2 separate regions of the Homo sapiens genome follow, and region 2 is linked to region 1. Evidence: promoter capture Hi-C in 16 types of primary human blood cells and fetal thymus (Javierre and others, 2016). All regions are on one chromosome and are shown on one strand. The core of a region is centred on a gene start or on the middle of the fragment in contact, and the rest is flanking DNA. Distances in the headings are between cores, read along the strand shown.

Region 1 (4,898 bases), core at 1,643-4,142:
CCCGAGCACAAAATCTGGACCTCCCTCAAGGCGCTGACCACTTCCTGGCTTGGGTTGTGGTGTGGCCCCTCTCTCCACCCCATAGACAGAGGCTCTGTCCAACTGTTCCCTGTATCCCGCAGGGCCTAGGGCCCAGCACAGAGCAGATGCCCAAGCCACTCTGGCCGAACGAATGAGCAGTGCTGAGTTTGGGGGTGTGGGCGATGATTATGACCCCATTTTACAGATGCAGAAATAGAGGTGCAGCTAAGTGACGGTCTTGGCCTTGGTCCCACAGTGAGGAAGCAGCAGAACCTAGACTCAGGCCCGTGTTTCTGGTCCCAGAGGCCAGACTCTTTCCAGGGCAGCTTGGTGGGAGGTGAGGTAGGGTGGGGTGGAGTGAGACTGGATCCTGGGAACCAGGAGGCCAGGGAGAGCTGGAGTTCGGACGGCCAAGTTCACGGAAAGCGCAGCTGGGGAGGAGCCAAGGTATTTATTATGCTTGGTCTCCAGTTCCAAACAGAGCTGATGGATGGAGCTGCTCCAGTTCCTATAAACAGCTCGGGCCTCCCTCTCCCCCACCCCGCCCTCCCCATTCTCAGCCACCACAGCCCAACTGTTTCCAGTGCGATAGGGGTGGGGGTGGGGGGAGATGACCAAGAAGAGAAGAATGGGAGACGAGGGGGAGCAAAGGAGGGGGGGAGGACAAAGATAAGACGGGGTCCTAGAGGCCTGAGGAAGCTGCAGGGAATGGAGGGTGGTCAGAGAGGATTCTTTGCCTCCCCACTGGCCCCTGCTGCCGTGGGCAGCCCACAGTCTGCATTCCCCTGTCCTCTCTGTGTCCCCTAGGTCTGTTCAAAAAGCCTCCTCACCACACTCTCTGAGGGCTTGTCTCAACTCCACAAGCTTCTGAGTCCTGGAAGACAGGGGCCATTCACTCAGAAAACCTTTTCTGAGCTGGCTTTAGTCTGTGTTGGCTCACAGGCCCTGGGGACAGATAGGACTCCAGGTAGGACCTCCCCCCAGGACCTCCTGGCCTGGTGGGTGGGTCAGGCAGACACCCAATGCTGAGGGCAGCCCAGACCTGTGGGCAGCTGGAGGAGAGAAATCCAGACAGTCTCCCCAGAGAAGGTGATGGAGGTGATACAGGCGAGGGTGGTGAAGGAGATTGTGCAGGTGGGTGGGGGGGTGAGCTGGTTCCGGCAGAGGAGGCGGGAGAGGTGCAGGAGGCAGTGCTGCCTAATGGTTAAGACTGCTGGCTCCAGAGTGGGACAGCCTGGGTTCAAGTCTCATCGCTGGAGCTCAGTTCTCTAAAATGAGGATGGTAACAGTAGAAATCTCTTCAACGGCTGTCAGAATTAAACATGACAATCCACATCCAGTGCTCAGCATGGGCCCGCCCGGAAGTGCTCAACAATGGCCATCTCTGAGCATGTTGTGAGAGGTGGCGGGAGAGAGATGGGCCTCATGGGCTCAGTGAACTGCCTGAAGGACAGGGGCACAGAACACAGACGGTGGGTCCCAGATCCTGGAGGATGTGGCCAGCCTGTGGGTCTGAGAGGGTGAGTTGCTGGCGCGTCCCGGGACCCGTTCCTGGTGGAGTGCCACGCCAGCGCATGGAACCCCAGGAGTTGGGCCCTGCACCTCAGGCTGACTGTGACCTGGGAGTGGCAGGGCCTCCCCTCTCCCTGCAAGCTAAGAGCTCGGGAAGCTGGATGTTCTGATGACCTAGTTGGCTGCTGTGTCCACGTTTGGCTGAAAACAGGAATTTCTGCCTCACCGGGGGTCTTGGCCAGGTGAGCAAACTCCCTGTTTGTCAGGAAAAGGGGTCAGGGGCCTGCTGGGCTCCCTGCTGGAGCAGAGGCCCGCAGACCCTAGGCGAGCTCAGCCCAAGCTCCTGCTTTCCCCTTAGGCCTTCACGGAGCACCTATCGTGTGCCAGGGGGTGGGGCTCTCTCCTTTCTCCCCCAGCCCTACCCCATGAAATAGGTGTTTAGAATTTCCCTTTGCAGACTGGGAGCCAGGAGCAGGAATGGGGAGGTGAGAGGGCACGGACCAGAGAAACGGAAGAATCTCCAGGAGGCAGAGCTGCCAACGCTGGGCCCAGGGGCTGCAGGGCCAAGGGGAGGGGTCCAGGCTGACTCGGGGTGGGCAGGAGAAGCATCACTGAGCAGGAGCTTGGGGGAGAGGCAGTCAGGGAAGGGAAGGGCAAAGGCGCAGTGCCAGGCTGCTGACAGGGCGAAATGGAAGGTGTGAGGGCCAGAGGAATAAGCACCCCCTGCTCTGCATGCTCTGCCCTGGCCTGTCACGCCTCTCAGTGCTCCCCTACCCAGGTGAGGCTGCTTCTGTCCCACACCCGACACTCACCCTCCAACTCCAAGCCAGGAACCAGGTGTGGTTTTCTTCCAAGTTCAACCTTGATCTGCAGCCTGGCTGATCACTGAATTCTCCAGTCCCTGGGGACCTTTAGCCCTCTACCTGGGAAGGCCTCTGGGTAGCAGAATTGGACTTTCAGGAGAGGTGGGGCTGGAGACAGAGATGTGGGCCATCAGAGCAATGGGGTGTTTACAGCAATGAGGCCATAGTGTTCCCAAGGGAAAAGGGCTTAGGATGGAGCCCTGGCCATCACCACTTAAAGCTGGCTCAAGGAAGATGAGCAAAGAGTGGCCTGAAAAGGAGTGGCCTGGGAGGGAGGAGATGGCTTCCTGTGTGGGATCACAGCTGTGGGGAGAGCATGCCCAGCAGGGGTATGGGTGGGGGGCCTGCTGCACAGGGCCTAGGGAGAGGAGGTCTGAAAAGCGTGCTGAGTTTGGCAAAGGATACCCTTGACGCTGTTAGCAAGGGCAGCATGGAGCTGGGAGGGGCTGAAGGCAGCTCCAGGCGGGTTGAGAACGGGAGGGGCGGGAAGGGAAGTGACTTTACCAAGAACCTGGCCTGTGAAGAGTGGGAGGACGAAGGGGAAAGTGGCTGAGGGGCTTCTCACTATTTTTAAGACGGACAAGACTTGAGTCCAGCTGAAGTCTGAGAGGAAGACGTAAACAGGGAGAGGCTGGAGGCAGAAGAGAGCATGACGGGGTAAGGGAGAGAGGACGGGGCTGGGGACCCCAAGGAGGAGGGGCAGTGCAGCCTCTGAGATAGGGCACAGAGGGCTGAGCACAGAGAAGGGGAGGGGGCCTGTAGCTGTAGCAGGAAGGAAACAAACGGAAGCCCTCAGCCTCTCAGCCCTGGGGTGGGGAGCACAGTCGCCTGTTGAGTGTGGGGCAAGAGGTGTAGCAGGGGCCATGCTAGTGGCTGCGGCTTCAAGGTCCAGGGTGGTGCTGGCCCAGAGTCTCAGTGTCCCCAGGGATTTGCCATGATGATTGAACGACCGTAATGGGATTGAGCGGCAGGGTTCTAGTGGACGCAATGAAGCGGATTGCAAAGAGGAAGCTGGCAGCCACACTGCTTCTCCAAAATTAGTTTTTAATACATTCAGGTAGGTTATACAAAGAGTTGGTCCCGAGGCCTGGGCTGAGGCCTGGGCCCTGGGAAGTGACAGCAGCCCTGTGTAGTGTTTTCAAAGATCAGGCGTGGGGACCCACACCTTGGCCTCCAGGCCTAAGGAGGAGTGTTACGTGCAGTAGCACCCGTGGGTGTGATCCCAACCAGGACTGGGTCTGCCTGGGTGCTCCACACACCACCAGGGCCTAGCCCTGGCTCTGCCCATTGACTCTCCCTTAACTTCCTCTGGGCCTTGGTGTTCTCCTCTGTAAAATGGGGTGGAGAGAGTGGCATTTTCACTTTCTCGCACATTACTGAGCCCACATCATGAGCCAGACTGTGGGCCAAGCACAGGTAAGATGATGAAGACAGCAAAACAAGGTCTTGAGTTGGTCCCAGCACGTCCATTCTTCCCAGACAGCTCATGACTCCATGGTATGAGGGATGGGGGTCATCTGGGTGAGGCTTTTTACCTGTTTTTGTAAGAGGGAAAAAAGATCCTTGCATGATGAGGCACAGAAAGGAAGTTTGGAGCCAGCATTATCTTGTGATGTGATAGCTGAGAGAGGACATCACTCTGGTCCAACCCCCAATCTCACCCCACAAATAAGGGCTCTTTTTTCCCCCAGAGGCTCTGTATAAGCTCTCCACAAGTTTCATTCTCTTCCTAAGCCTCAGTTTCCCCATCTGTGCAATGGGGAGGTTGGATTCCATAGTCTCAAACTCCAGGCTCTGCTCAATAGAGGAAAAGGGAATGAGAGAATGCAAGAGCACAGAGAGAACAGGAGAACCCACACCAGGGTGGAAAGGAAGGGAGGAGGGAAACAGGCAGAGAAGGAGGAGAGCGCCTGCAGCTGCCTGCCTGGGAGAGAGGAGAGAGCAGGTGTGCACAGCACAGGATGCTTCCAGACCCTGCTCGGGCTATGTGGGGCCACTTCCTGTCCACTTAACGGCCTGCAGCCCCTGCAGTGGTAAAGATCAGGCCCTGGAGACAGAAGGATGAAGGTTTGAATCTCACCTATGGCATTAGTTAGCTGGGGCCCTGGAAGGAGATTTTCAGAACTTCAGTTTCCTCTTTTATAAAACGGGGATAAAATATAGAGCTGTCACATAGGGGCAGACACAAGGCTTGGATTCAAATCCACATCTGCCAAGCTGGGTGCAAAACAGAACCAGATATCTAAGGTTTTAGCTCCTGGCTCAGCAGCCAAGGTGGGGCTGCGATGGAGAAGTGGGGCTGGGCAGGGACGGTGCTTAGAGCAGCACTGGGGTCAGGGTATGCAACATGAGAGTGCCAGGAAGGGAGAGGGCAAGTCCAGAGCAGGAGACGGAATGGTCCAGTGCTGGGCTGGACCCCTTAACCAGACCCTGCTGGAGCCGCCGTGGCCCACCTAACAACACCAGATCCGAGACACACTCGTACAGCTCCAATTCTCTCTT
Region 2 (4,898 bases), core at 650-3,149, 59 kb before region 1:
ACGTTGAAATCCTGACCCCCAGAGCCTCAGAATGTGACCTTTTCGGAGATGGGATCTTTACAGAGGTCATCCAGGTAAAATGAGGTCATCAGAGTAGGCCTTTGTCCAATAAAACTGTCCTTGTAGGAAGGGGAAATTTGGAGACAGACACACAGGGAGAACCCTGTGTGAAAACGGAGGCAGAGACTGGAGTGATGCTCTCACAGGCCACAGGACGCGGAGGACTGCCAGCGAGCACCAGGAGGCAGGGAGAGGCGCAGGATGGGCGCTTCCTCTCAGCTCTCGGGAGGAAGCCCCTGGTGACATCTGGACCTTGGGCTGCAGCCTCCAGAACTCTGAGAGGACACCTCCCTGTCGTTTCTGCCCAGTGTGTGGCACTGTGCTATGGCAGCCCTGGCAAATGGATCCATCTCCTTTTTACTGATGAGTACAGCCAGGGTTGGGAAGTCACTCCCGTGAGCACGGTGGCCTCGCTGGCTGGAACTTGTTGCTCAGCCACCTCTTAAATGCCGATCCCCACCTCCACCTCCCCATTCCATCCTCCATCCAGAGCCCTCAGCTCTTCAGGCATTCATCATTTATGCACCTTTGAGGCAGGCAATGCTCCAAGCACAGGGCCCAGCAGAGAAACAAACAAACAAACAAACAAGCAAGCAAGCAAACAACAGACACCATTCCTCCACGTGGGGAACAAACAATAAGGAAGGTGAGTGACAGGTTAATAGTATGTTCCATGGTATACGTTCCACAGGGAAACTGAGGCACAGAGGGGGATAGGGAGTGTGGAATGGTGGACTTTTAAACAGGGCGGTTTGGGAAGGCTCACTGGGAAGGCACCCTCCTGGTCACTGCCCCTTCCCACACTGTAGCCCACTCCATGGAGGCCTCCCAGGCCCTCCCTGCCCAGGCTCTCTACCCAGTATCTCCCCCAGGACTTAAACTGCCCAACCCCAACTCAGCCTCCCCCATGTGCTCCCCACAACACATCCCAGCAAATGCCACCACCATCCATCTGCTTAGTATTCAAACCAGAAACCTGGATGCAAATTAGACCTCCCCAACTCTTGCCCTCACTCCATCTGGCCCTGGGAACTAGAGGTGCTCCCTTCATGAGTGCGGGAGACGCAAGCTTGGTTCCCCCTCCGGTCGGGCAGAGCACCCCAGTGGCAGGGGAGCGGGGACGGCTGTTTCCATAACTGGACCCAGTGGCCATGTCTAATCCCCTGTACAGACTCTGTCCTCTGCCTTCAGAGCCCATGGTCAGGCCCTGAGCCCTGCAAACCCACCTCCTCCTCTGTACCCACCAAATGCTGTGCCCCTCCCAGGGGCCTTCCTTGCCTTGACCAGTGAGAGCCAGTGGATGCCATGGACCAAGGCCCAGCAGCAGTCAGGGAACCCAGTCCCACCCCTTTCTGGACCTTCGTGTCCTCATCTGTAGAATGGGCAAAATTCCTGCCAGGCTGACCCTCAGGAAATCTTGGCTGAGTCAGTGGATGTGAACGGTGCTGCTCTGGGTGGTGTGGACACGTGGACCAGCTGGGGTGAGGGGCAGCCAGGGTGGGAAGCTGTGTGGGTTAATGTGGACCAGCCAGAGGCAGCACCTGTGACCCATGCACATGCGTGTGTCCATGGGAATGGGGAGGGGGAAAAGCCACGTTCTAGGTGGGCTCACCTGGCACCACCCACACCAGTCTGTGACAGGGCAAGATGAAGGAGAAAGAGGCTGCTGCTACCCACCTGCCTGCCTGCCCACTTCCTCCCTGACTCCTGCATGAAGAAAGGTGGCTGAGGGACTCCCCTAAATGTGCCAACCCTCACTGGGCAAGCCTGGGGCTGGGAAGACGTGTGAGGTCAGCAGTCCTGGGGTGGGGGGCCTTCCTTTGCTCCTCTGTGCCCCTGGGGTAGGGTGGGCTGCAGCATCATCTCAGTGCTGGGGGGTGACTAGCTCCCATCCTGCTAGGAGACTTTGTGCCAGCCACCCGGCTCCTCTGAGTTGACTCCCTCATCTACCTAACAGGGGTGATCATGCTGCCTTGGGTGGTGTTGAGAAGACTAAATGATACATGACACTTGGTCCCAGGACCCTCTTGTGACCTCTGGGTCCTGGCACCACTCACTGAGGTTTGCCCCTTGGCTCCTTCAGCATCCTCAAGTCACCCCTAGAGGTCTCTCTAACTGTGCGCTCCAGCTTAGTAGCCACCAGCCGCACGCGGCTACTGGGCATCTGAAATGTGGCTGGTCTGAAACGAGCTGTGCTGTGGGTGGAAAAGACACACCAGGTTTCAACAATACAAAAAAAAAAAAATGAAATACAACATTCATAATTTTTAATACTGATTACATGTTGAAAGGATAATATTTTGATATATTAAGTTAAATATATTATTAAAATTAAGTTCACTTGTTTCTTTTTACTTTCTTAATGTAGCTACTGGAGAAATGTCATTACATCCGAGTCTCACATTCTGTTTTATTGGATGGCCCTGCTCCAGAACCTTGGAAAGGCCACTTCCAGGGCATCTTCCTGGTGGCTCCCAGGAAAAGCAGCCCCTGGGATTTCCAGCAGCTGCTGAAGAATGTCTGCTCCCCTGGTGGCCCCAGGCTGCAGAACACACTCGCTGTGGCCTCACCCGCTCCCCACCCTTTCCCGCACATCCCATAGCCTCCCAGGAAGCTTAGACTCAGCTAAGGGACCCTCCCTGCTGCCCCCACCATGAGGGTAGCCAACAAAGCCTGCGGCCCCCTCCCCCAGCTGCTAAGAACCTCATAGCTGTATGGGAATTACCCTGGCGTCACTTTCTCCTTCCCAGCAGACCCCAGGGATGTGGCTTCCTTGCCCCAGGCCCTGAGTCACCCGCAAGGAATCCCCTCTCCTCTGGAGAGGGTTCTGCGGGCAGGAGGCAGCCTCTGTGGTCCTGAGGAGCATGGCTTCAGGAGTCAGAGAGACCTGGAGGTGAGTCCGGGCGCTGCCTCGTGCTCACCGTGTGGCTGGGGTAAGCCCCTCCTGTCTGCACCTCAACTTCCTCACTTATGAAATGGGCGTAATCACCGCGCCCACCTCATAGAGCTGTAGGGATGTCATCGAGGCATGGCGCTCTGCACAGCTCTTGGTTTGTAGTAAACAGCAGTTGTTAAAGGACCTGAAAGAGTTAGGGATGTGGCCTTTGACCTCAGGCTCACTAGGCCAGCCACAGAGAGGAGGCAGGTGCCAAGGTGGTGGGCCAGGGAAGGGTGGGGAGCAAGTGAGGCAGGAAGGAGGCAGGGGGATGGTAGCTCCCTTTCAGGCCTCAGGCTCTATGTAGCCCAACAGATAGCCCGGCTGGCCCATTTTCAGATGAGGAAAGTGAGGCTCTTAAAAGTGAAGCGACTTCCCCAAGGCTAGTGCTGGGGATTGATTTGGGGGCTACCTGTATCCAAGGCCTGTGTTCTCTCTGCCATCCTGTATTGTGAAGTTTGAGAGGAGTTTCTGGAGGAAATAAACACAAAATGGTTTGAGAAGAAGTTTGAGCTAATATAGTCCCTTTCCTGCAGGTGGTTTTGAGCCTTTGAAAGAAAGTATCCACAACTCCTGTCCTAAATCTCATCCCTGCAAAGCCAACCTTGACCCAAGGGCTTGGGTGCAGGTAGTTCATTCGGGAGGTGATGCCAGGCAACAGTGAGAAACGGAGAAGTGGGAAAGGGAGGGAGAAAACCCAGGAAGGTGGCTTCGATGAGCGGGTTACCACTGTGGGCACCTGGGCTCCATCCTGCTGGGCACCCTAGGAGCTGGAGTATAGAACACACATCATCAGAATCTCAAACTCAAGAGCTGGACGTTGGGGTGTTTGTCCACTTTTCATTCCCTGAGATTGAGGATTGCCCGTGAGGGTGTTGGGTCTCTGGCACATCCCTGCACAGGCTGAACAAGGTCCTTTGGTGCTGGAAGAAGCCCTTGGGTAGACAGACGGAGAGGAGAGAAGGGAAACAGGCGCTTGAGGCTGGGAGCGGGGCTGGCATGGGCAGATTATCCACAGAGTTGGCTCAGCCCCACTCCCGCCTCTGAAGAAAAGCATTCAAATAACACAATGACATTCATCACAGTTAATACTGATATAATTTCTATTGTTTATAATACATTTAACAGTAGAAATATATTATTATAATGATATATTTCTATATTATATTGATATAGAAATATAAGATATTAATATTAACACTAAATATTATATTAAATTAATATTAATATATTATATTTATATATTAATGTATTTCTATTGTGTGTGTGTGTGTGTGTGTGTGTGTATATATATATATATATATATATATATAAAAAATTTAGAAATAACCTAAATATCCAGTAAGAGGGGATTGGCTTAGTAAACTACGGTGCATCAAAAAGACAGAATATTCTGCAGCCAAAAATGAAGACTCTGTTGCTACATGGAAAGGTGCTTGGGAAAGAATATTAATTAAAACATGGTGCGTGCACACACTTCCCACCGTGGAAGGTGCTGTGGTCTGAGTGTTTGTGACCCCCAAAATTCATATGTTGAAACTTAATCCTCAGTGTGTTGGAATTAAGGGCTGGGGTACCTGGGAAGTGACGAGGTCTTTTTTTTTTTTTTTTTTTTTTTTGAGATGGAGTTTTGCTCTGTTGCCCAGGCTGGAGTGCAGTGGCACGATCTTGGCTCACTTCAACCTCTGCTTCCCAGGTTCAAGTGATTCTCCCACCTCAGCCTCCCGAGTAGCTGGGATTACAGGTGTGCACCACCATGCCCTGCTACTTTTGTATTTTTAGTAGAGATGGGTTTCACCATGTTGGCCAGGCTGGTCTCAAACTCCTGACCTCAAGTGATTCACCCGTCTCGGCCTCCTAAAGTGTTGGGATTACAGGCGTGAGCCACTGCACCTAGCCTGTG

The links. The method cuts DNA at HindIII sites, captures the fragments that hold promoters and counts their contacts. A CHiCAGO score of 5 or more calls a contact.
Region 2: a fragment that was not itself captured here is called in contact with the fragment with the promoter of LRRC32-AS1 in region 1 in 1 of 17 cell types (megakaryocytes); the score reaches 7.1 in megakaryocytes.

The regions. Positions count from the first base shown.
Region 1 is chr11:76,654,104-76,659,001 of GRCh38, forward strand. It overlaps LRRC32-AS1 (LRRC32 antisense RNA 1), which reads left to right and starts at 2,893. Exons shown (of 3, transcript NR_199061.1): 1 at 2,893-3,053. LRRC32 (leucine rich repeat containing 32) reads right to left here. Exons shown (of 3, transcript NM_001128922.2): 3 at 3,421-4,898. RefSeq lists an enhancer at 1-189. The HindIII fragment of the contact is 4,024 bases long and covers 884-4,898 here.
Region 2 is chr11:76,596,542-76,601,439 of GRCh38, forward strand. No RefSeq gene overlaps it. Among named protein-coding and RNA genes, the nearest start is that of LINC02757, 31 kb to the right of the region's middle. RefSeq lists an enhancer at 786-1,437 and a silencer at 2,068-2,147. The HindIII fragment of the contact is 1,545 bases long and covers 1,128-2,672 here.